2 separate regions of the Homo sapiens genome follow, and region 1 is linked to region 2. Evidence: promoter capture Hi-C in 16 types of primary human blood cells and fetal thymus (Javierre and others, 2016). All regions are on one chromosome and are shown on one strand. Each heading gives the region's core, a stretch centred on a gene start or on the middle of the fragment in contact. The rest is flanking DNA. Distances are from core to core; before and after follow the strand shown. Region 1 overlaps C12orf56 (chromosome 12 open reading frame 56). Region 2 holds the start of SRGAP1 (SLIT-ROBO Rho GTPase activating protein 1).

Region 1 (4,817 bases), core at 2,271-4,770, 420 kb before region 2:
CCCCATAAAGTGTCCAAGTCTTTTCCTTCATTACCCAATGAGGAGTCCACATTTTCTACCCTCAATTTTGGGGGCAGAGAGAGAGGAGCAAAATGGTGTTTTTGAGTGTCCTGGCTGTTAGATGGGGGATTATTTTCAAGAGACGGTCAATCAAAGGAATATGAAAAGATTCTTGGAACATAGGCAAGTATTACCTCAAACCGGACAAAGAATGTACTGATGAACCCGCAGGATGACAACGAGAGGATCAACTCAGCTCTGCCTTAGCTTCTCCGCAGTGCCCTGGATCTGGGCTAGTAGTCATGCAGGCTCTAGTGAGGGCTTGGGGTTTCTCTCCCACATGATTTCTGCATGCCTCTCCCACTCCTCTCTTTGCCCTGGGATCTTACTTTAATCTCTGGGAGCAAAATCTCTGTCAAAATATATCTGAATCTTTTTATGTGGGGCTAAAGTCAGTGGTTTTTTGGAGAGTTAATGGTTGAATATTTGTCACCCTGATTTTCTTCAGTCTACTCTGTATAACTCATGTCTATTCATTTGCACAGTCTGGGATCAGAAACTAATAATTCGAAGGATTGTCCAACCACTATTCTTCTCTGCTGTGTGGTTTTTGTTTGCATTGTTGTCAAAGGCAAGAAAAATCACAGAATAATCCATCTCTATTAGTGCTCAGACACATTTAACATTTTAACTAAATATTGACCTCACCTACAAAATAATTATTTTTCAGGAAATCTGATTGTAGAAAAATTTGACTATGAAGATCACATAAATAACTTTTTAAGAATCCAAAGGCTTGCCAAAAAGGCAAGTACACATGGACAGTTTTCCAGCCAGGGTCAAGATTCTAAACCCTTTGGCCATCTTTATAATACAAGCACTGCCATTTACCACCATTACCTACCCCCGCAGTCATCAGCTCTCCATTTGAAAGTATAGGTAGGTCGGGCACTGTGGCTCACGCCTGTAATCCTAGCACTTTGGGAGGCCAAGGTGAGTGGATCATGAGGTCAGGATTTCGAGACCAGCCTTGCCAGCATGGTGAAATCCCGTCTCTACTAAAAATACAAAAATTAGCCGGGTGTGTTGGCACGCGCCTGTAGTCCCAGCTACTCAGGAGGCTGAGGCAGGAGAATCGCTTGAACCCCGGAGGCGGAGGTTGCAGTGAGCCGAGATTGCACCACTGCACTCCAGCCTGGGTGACCGAGCAAGATTCTGTCTCAAAAAATAAATAAATAAATAAATAAATAAATAAATAAATAAATAAATAAAAAATATATGTAAATAGGCTGTGCACGGTAGCTCATGCCTGCAATCCCAACACTTTGGGAGGCCAAGGTAGGTGGATTGCCCGAGCAACGGAGTTCAAGACCACGAACATGGTGGTAACATGGTGAAACCCTGTCTCTAGTAAAATAAAAAATTAGCTGGGCGTGGTGGCGCACACCTGTAGTCCCAGCTAATCGGGGTAGGCTGAGGCACGAGACTCACTTGAACCCGGGAGGCGGAGGTTGCAGTGAGCCGAGATCGCACCACTGCACTCCAGCTTGGGTTACAGAGTGAGACTCCATCTCAAAAAATAAATAAAAATATAAAAATTAAAAAATTAAAAATATATATGTAAATAATATATAGAGATTATATGTAATTATATATAATTATAATTTTAAAATTTCATCTATATATAATGCGGGTAAGAACACTGGTTTTGGAGCCGAAATGGTTTAAATTCCAGTTCTGCACTTGTTTTGGACCTTAGGAAGTTACAAATATTTGTAAGCTGCAGTTAAAGCAAAGATAATATAACCTACTGCAAAGGGTGTTAGGAGATTTAAATGAAAACATAAATGCTTTAGCACACAGCACGGTATCTGACATGCAGTAAAGACTTGGGGTATATATTGTTAAAGTTAACAAAGCTGGGTGAGAATTTAGAGACTAATAAATATTGCCTTATTTTTTTAACCAATCTGAGGACCAGCCGCTGTACTCATAGAACCCCTGGTCTATAGAGCATTGGAGAACAGATTCATTTGAATTTTTTTTTTTTTTTTTGAGACTGAGTTTCACTCTACTTGCCCAGGCTGGAGTGCAATGGCACAACCTTGGCTAACTGCAACCTCTGCCTCCCGGGTTCAAGCGATTCTGCTGCCTCATCCTCCCAAGTAGCTGGGATTACAGGCTCCCACCACCACGCCTGGCAATTTTTTTGTATTTTTAGTAGAGACGGGTTTCACCATGTTGGCCAGGCTGGTCTCGAACTTCTGACCTCAGGTGATCCACCGGCCTCAGCCTCCCAAAGTGCTGGGATTACAAGCGTGAGCCACCATGCCCGGCCTGACAAGTGACTATTTTCACTGCTTACCACCAGGAAAGAGTGTTGGCTCTAATTAGCGCCATCAATGGAAGATCTACGTGGAAAACACTCTTTCCAAGGGTGGACAGAAAGCTTTTTAGTTCCTAAACTTTTTTCAGCCTTTGACTTGAACGGGTAATTGCTAAGTGACCAAATTGAAATAGCCATTCTTTACTTACAGAGTTCCAAATGGATTTACAGGTAGTGTTAGAGGAGATACATGAAGTATTCCTTTTCTTTTTTTTTTTTTTTTTGAGTTTCACTCTTGCCCCCCAGGCTGGAGTGCAATGGCACGATCTTGGCTCACTGCAGCCCCACCTCCTGGGCTCAAGCAATTCTCCTGCCTCAGCATCCCGAGTAGTTGGGATTACAGGCATGTGCCACCACACCCAGCTAATTTTGTATTTTTAGTAGAGACGGTTTCACTATGTTGGCCAGGCTGGTCTCGAACTCCTGACGTCAAGTGATCTGCCCGCCTCGGCCTTCCAAAGTGCTAGGATTACAGGGATGAGCCACTGTGCCCAGCCAAATTTCTTGAGTTTTACTGAAATTTAGATACTCTAGCTACTGTGCAAAGAGGGAAAAGCCTGAAGTTCCTATAACTGATAGCATGTTTTACATAATTTCATATTGAATCTCACTCACTGGCGGTACCACTTTTAATTTTGCATGAAGATGCTTGAGAGTACATTAATAAATGTTCTATAAGGCAGCTGATAAGCATAGTGAAAGCTTTTTGGCTGCTAAGCTTCAACCTGTGCCATTATATTTTTTCTGAGGCTACAACCATTTGTTTTATATTTCACATATTTGCATATTAGAGAGGTTCAGTGATAAATATGGAAGAGAAGCTGAAAATTCTTGACGAGATAAATTTGATTTTTTTTTTCTTGAGATGGGGTCTTGCTATATTGGCCAGGCTGTAGTGCAACGGCTACTCACAGGTGAGATCACAGCACACCACAGCCTCAAACTCCTGGGCTCAGGCAATCCTCCTGCCTCAGCCTCTCGAGTAGCTGAGACTGCAGGTACATGCCAGCATGCCAGGTTCATGGTGGGAATTTTTGAACAACTCTTAATAGTGTTAAATTACTGTCTGATTGCTCTTTGTTCATTGGATTTGCTTCTAAAATGCAGTACAGGCCGGGCGTGGTGGCTCACACCTGTAATCCCAACACTTTGGGAGGCCGAGGTGGGCAGATCACTTGAGGTCAGGAGTTCGGGCCCAGCCTGGCCAGTATGGTGAAGCCCTGTCTCTACTAAAAATACACAAATTAGCTGGGCATGGTGGCAGGTGCCTGTAATCCCAGCTACTCGGGAGGCTGAGGCAGGAGAATCACTTGAACCCAGGAGGCAGAGGTTGCAGGGAGCCGAGATTGCACAACTGCACTCCAGCCTGGGCAACAGAGCAAGACTCTGTCTCAAAAAATAAATAAAAAATAAAATAAAATAAAATAAATGCAGTGCAGGCTTGTAAGGTCAACTTGAATTTGGGTATCTATAGTGGGGAGACAGCCATTCTCCATGCCGTCAGACCAAGCACTTCTCTGTATTTCTGTGCCTTGTGGATCTGAAGCTTTTGTCATTTTGGGGAAGGCAACATGATTCCTTGGCTAGAAATCTGGGTAGTGTAACTTTTGGGATAAGATGCTATGTCAGACCTTGTTCTTACTTGTCATCAGACTTTTGGCAGGTTATTTTAAATCTTCCAGAACCTTTATTTTGTAAACTATGAGATAGTAAGAAGCCTACCTTAAGGGTTTTTGTGAATATGTGAATATTAATTAATTTGTATATAAACATCTAATTCTATGGTTACTATATATTAGGATGACCCATATAGCATTGCCATTTTCAAGTCCGAAAATGTTGGGATCTGCAATTCCATATGGTTCAAACAAACAGCAAGCCCTCAATAAATGGTAGCTATTATCTTAACAGAAATACTCACTTGCTTAGTGACCTTGTACTTTAAATATACAGTATATGGTTTATTCTCATTTCCCAAGTAGTTTGACACTTTGTTATAGCATGGCTTATTCTTGCACAGATTTGCATAAACCATACATCAAGTCATAGAATTCACTTACAAATTATTGTGTGGTTATAACATACCTAAACATTTTCAGAATGGAATTAATTTTCTTGATTGCCTTATGTGACAGTAAAAGTCTGTTCTTCCACTAGTCTCTCCCTCTAAGTGAATGGCACTCCATTCACTCCACTACTCAAAAGAGAAACCTGAGGGATCTGTTTCCTCCCTTCTCTTTATTCCCCAAATGTAACCCATCAGCAGTGCTTATTGGCAATTTCTTCAAGATATATTCCTGATCTACTGACTTCTCATAATTATGGCTATTACCCTAGTTTGAATCTCCAGCAACTACTGTAATAGCCTATTTAGTCACTTTTGACCCCTACAATCCATTTTTTAAAGGGACGGTGGTATTTTGAACATGGA
Region 2 (4,576 bases), core at 1,832-4,331:
GTCCAATATGTATGTTTATTCATTGTGTTTTTCTTGAGACAGAGTCTCACTCTGTCAGCCAGGCTGGAGTGCAGTGGCGCAATTTCAGCTCACTGCAACTTCTGCCTCCCGGGTTCAAGCAATTCTCCTGACTCAGCCTCCAGGGTAGCTGGGACTACAGGCATGCACCACCATGTCCGGCTAATTTTTGTATTTTTAGTAGGGACAGGGTTTCACCATGTTGGCCAGGCTGGTCTCGGCCTCAAGTGATCCGCCCACCTCGGTCTCCCAAAGTGCTGGGATTACAGGCGTGAGCCACCGTGCCTGGCCTAGACTTATGTCTTAATGAGTCCCACACAGTCAGGTTTTCCTTTAGCAATAGAACAGAATTTTTTTTTATCATCAGATAAAGTTGCTGACTGTAATTTAAAAAGTAGTTTGTTCCAAATACATATACCTTTATTTATTTATTTATTTATTAGACAGAGTCTCACTCTGTCACCCAGACTGGAGTGCAGTGATGTGATTTCGGCTCACTGTAACCTCTGCCTCCTGGGTTCAAGTGGAACCACAGGCACACTGGGACCACAGGTGTGTGCCACCACACCTAGCTAATTTTTGTATTTTTTGGTAAAGATGTGGTTTCTCTACCAAAATGTTGGCCAGGCTGGTCTTGAACCCCTAACCCCAAGTGATCCGCCTGCCTCAGCCTCCTGAAATGCGGAGATTACAGGCATGCACCACTGCACCTGATCCCAAAACACATACCTGTAAATAACAGACTAGCACTCTGCGAGGGTACAGAAAAACCAGTCTTGTCTCCCATGCTGTCCTTACTAAGGGGCCTACTCTCCCTGCATTGGACAGCTGGCCTCATGTACTATTTATCTGTTATTTGTCTCCCACTCTCTTCTTGATTTGCCTAGAAGTACCAGGTGAATTTGTGCCATTTAATGCGTATATGATCTGACTCCATGATATTCCCTTATTCCCATGTTTGTGTATGGATGTAGTGATCTAGGTTAGATACTGGATGTGTAGGTACTGCAGGAGGAGGTAAAGCCTGGACTCAGGGCAGGGCAGGTGCAGTGAAGACTCCTAAAGCAGCCTAGGGACTCGTGGGTGTGTGGAAGGAAGAAGTGTTGAAGGAAATAGGGAGAAGGTCATTCTCTGTGGGACAGACTTAGCTCCAAATGTGATTTTCACCATGTTCATGATTTTTCTTCCGTTTGAATTTGATAGACACATTGCAACACATCCCATTTCGCTGATTTTCAAATAAGGACTTGATCACTGGCAAGTGACCTTACAGCAAACATAAAGAAATCAACATTTGGAAGTGCATTTGCCAATTAGTGCTCTAGGCGGCAGAAAAACCAGACCGCCACCCCTTGAAGACCTGCCACAAAGAGCCATGTGGAAAAACTGCACAGAGAAATGGTGGTTGTGAACAAGAGTACTGCCCTGGAATGAAAGGTTTTAGGCTATGTTGGACTCACTGAAAAAAGAAAGGTTAGTCTCATTAGAAAGTTTACCTGGCTCTAAGAAAATAATTACTTATCTGCTAACACAACTTCCATAGCAATGAAACAAGTTCCTGTAAGTATAAATTATCACAATTCCAAGCAGACAAAAATCTGTGTCTCCTGAACACATTATAGGGGTCAGCCTATAGATAACTCCATTATAGGGGTCCTCCTAAAGATAACCTAAGTTATCTTGCATATTGTGTCTGCAGTGTCCACAATGAGTTGGTCTGTATTCACACTGGATGATACAGGATTTCTCCACCAGGTCCTCTCACAGGACTCCAGGCATTTTTACAACTTGACCACACAAAAGAACACTCAGGCTGCTCCTCCCTTGCTCAAGGGAAGTACAGTAATGCCTCTCTCCGTAGCCCTTTCATAAGACTGTGCATAGATAAACACAGGTGTATACATAGCAATCTTTATGAACTTTGCATTGAATGTGTCAAAGAACAGTGGCGGTCCCAACATTCCATCCATTGTCTCAATCAGGAAAGCTACTCCTGAGACCTCAGGAAAGAGGAGGAAAAAATTCAAGTAACACATATGTTTACGAAACACTTCAGTAACAAAACAAAATACTTGTATTGGAGAGAAAATATATATATTTTTAATCACAAGGCATAGAAAGTAAAAATAATCAGCCTTAATTAGGTTTCCTTCATTAGTTGACAATGTAAATGGACTGAAACTACTACTCAAATATTCAAACCTTCATTTTACATGCAAGTGGCTTCCAGAAAATGATAAAGCAATATTCCCATGTGAGTGTGAAAGATGGCAATGAATTCTGGCCCATTATAAAGGAAGAGTCAGATTCCACTAGTCACTGCTTCGTTTAACTGCCAGGCTTTTAGGGAGCTATTTAATAAAAGGGGTCTCGCCCTAATAAATTGTGAGCGGTGTAAATAGGTGAGTGGTGTAAATATCTGAAATAGCCTGCACTCAATGAGGCTGTAGACCGCTTGGGGTTCACAGACTTTACAAAAATCATTCCGTAAAAAAATTACGTAGTGACAATCCTACCATTTAAAAAGAATAATGATGGTGATAATAATAGCTGGACAGGATCCTCCACTGCTGCCTGCTTCCCACATAAGTTGCCCAGCTGAAGGTGGTTAAGTTAAAGCCAGTTCTCTCCCCATTAGAGATGCGGGCTGGCAGCTGGCGGGGGAAGTCACCCAGTTTCCAGCTCCCCGTGGGTTTGACGGGACTGGGATTGCAACTGGGAACTAACTGGCTTGTAGGAAGCCCAGGTGGCTCAGACAGGGCTCGAGCTGTCCCCTCACCACCTTCCTCCCACGCAGACACCAAGTTAGATACGCAACTCCACGAGCACAATGACAAGAAGGCACACAAAAGGAGCAAGGCAGCCGCTCCCATCCTTACCTTTGACTTGACTTTCATACTCGGCTATGATCTCTTTGTCCTTCTTGAATCGGCTCGGGGTGGACATTATCCAGCTGTTCCGGGTTTGCTTTCAATGGGCAAGTTTTGTTCAGTGGTCACAACCCGTTCTCCTTGGAGAGGCAGAGTTGTACTCCCACACGCAGGCAATCCAGAGGCAGCGCCGACCCGAGGGAAGGGAGGAGGGAGAGGAGAAGTAGGAGGAGGAGGGGAAAAAGAGCGAGTAGAGAGGACTAGATTAGCCCGGGCGCTGGCACCATACTCTCGAAATTGAGCTCCGTCGGTAATCCCAGGGGATCCCCGGGGGAGAGGCCGGACGCGCAGGCAAACTCCAGCCAGCGAGTGGCGGGGGACGTCTCCCTGCCCACCTCGCCGGGAGCCCGGCCACTTCCTCTACGGCCGCTGGGCGGGCGCGGGGCTCGCGCCGGCGCTCCGCACCATTGTTCGAGACCCGCACCGGGCGCCCGGGACAGGGCCAGCGGCGGAGGGCAGGCGCTGGGAACGCGCCCAGCTCGGGCGCCACAACCCTCCCTTCCTGCCTCCAGCTGTCGGCTCCGGCGCTCAAGGGTCCCGCCCGGGCTGGGGATGCTGCTGCCACGGCCGCCGCTCCTCTGCCCGCAGACACTGCCGCTACAGCTCGGCAGGCGAAAGGAATCGCAGTCCTGACGCGAGTCCCCGCTGCTGCTGAGAGGGTGAAGGCGGCGACGCTCAGACGCGCCCTGGGCACAGCCCCGGCGGAGTTTAGGTCTCCAGAGCCGGCGCCGCGAGGGGCCTCTGCCTCCCTGGCCGCGGTGCGCCGAGGCTGCCTTTCTCTGCGTCCCCCTTTCCGCTGCTGCCCCCAGGAGGCCGCTAGTGACAGGCACACTCGCACACGCACGCGGGAGCCGCGCCCCCGGCGGCAGCAAAGTTGAGGGTGCGCACACGGCTCGCGCCTCGCGGGCGCCCGGCTAGCGATCTGCGGGCGGTGGCTCCTCGGGGCTCCGCCAGGCGGGGCCAGGCTCGCGGGAGCGGACCGCGCTCCGGCCTGTGCCCTTCTCCGTCCAAGCTCCCGCCCCTGCTCCGCTAGGAAACGCCTGGCTGGTCCGGGAAGATGGATGCCTCTTGTGGCCAACCGCAGCCCGGCCCCGCGCGCCGAGCCCAGGAGGCCGTGGGCGGCGCCCCCGGCACCTCCCTCCGCCGAGGCCCCGCACCTCCCTCCGCCGAAGCCCCGCTCCACCGCTAGCCGAGGTCGCGGCTCCGGCGGCAGGAAAACCCCTTCCTGACCTGAGGGACCGCCTTCTGGCTCTGGCGGGGGCTCTGGTGGGGCTTTTGCCAGAATCTAATGGGGAAGTCCAGAGTTGGATGTATCCATGACACAAAGGGATGTTACTCCGAGACGCTGGACCCCAATAGAAAAACTGAACACTGAATTGTGAATGACCTGGCTGTTAATCCAAAGAGCGCGAAGCTCTTCAATCGAGGCGGAGAAAAACACCCACCTTGAACACCATATCCTCTATTCCTACAGTAGATAGGGAAGCTAGGATGGTAGGAAAGCGATGGTATGGAAACACGTCACACTTAACGGCGTTGTTAGCTTATTTATTTACTAAACTCCAGATTTTATTCCAATTTTACCAATTTTTTCGACTAGTGTCATTTTTTCTGTTCCAAGATCCAAC

What was found. Contacts are between HindIII fragments. The CHiCAGO score rates a contact against its expected background, and 5 or more counts as called.
Region 1: a contact is called between a fragment that was not itself captured here and the fragment with the promoter of SRGAP1 in region 2, in 1 of 17 cell types (M1 macrophages). The highest score is 5.9, in M1 macrophages.

The regions. Positions count from the first base shown.
Region 1 is chr12:64,260,534-64,265,350 of GRCh38, reverse strand. It overlaps C12orf56 (chromosome 12 open reading frame 56), which reads left to right. Exons shown (of 13, transcript NM_001170633.2): 13 at 1-589. Among named protein-coding and RNA genes, the nearest start is that of KICS2, 41 kb to the right of the region's middle. The HindIII fragment of the contact is 828 bases long and covers 3,107-3,934 here.
Region 2 is chr12:63,843,205-63,847,780 of GRCh38, reverse strand. It overlaps SRGAP1 (SLIT-ROBO Rho GTPase activating protein 1), which reads right to left and starts at 3,081. Exons shown (of 22, transcript NM_020762.4): 1 at 2,898-3,081. The coding sequence starts at 2,964. RefSeq lists silencers at 3,239-3,498, 3,609-3,668, 3,729-4,148 and enhancers at 3,075-3,574, 3,575-4,076. The HindIII fragment of the contact is 14,499 bases long and covers 1-4,576 here.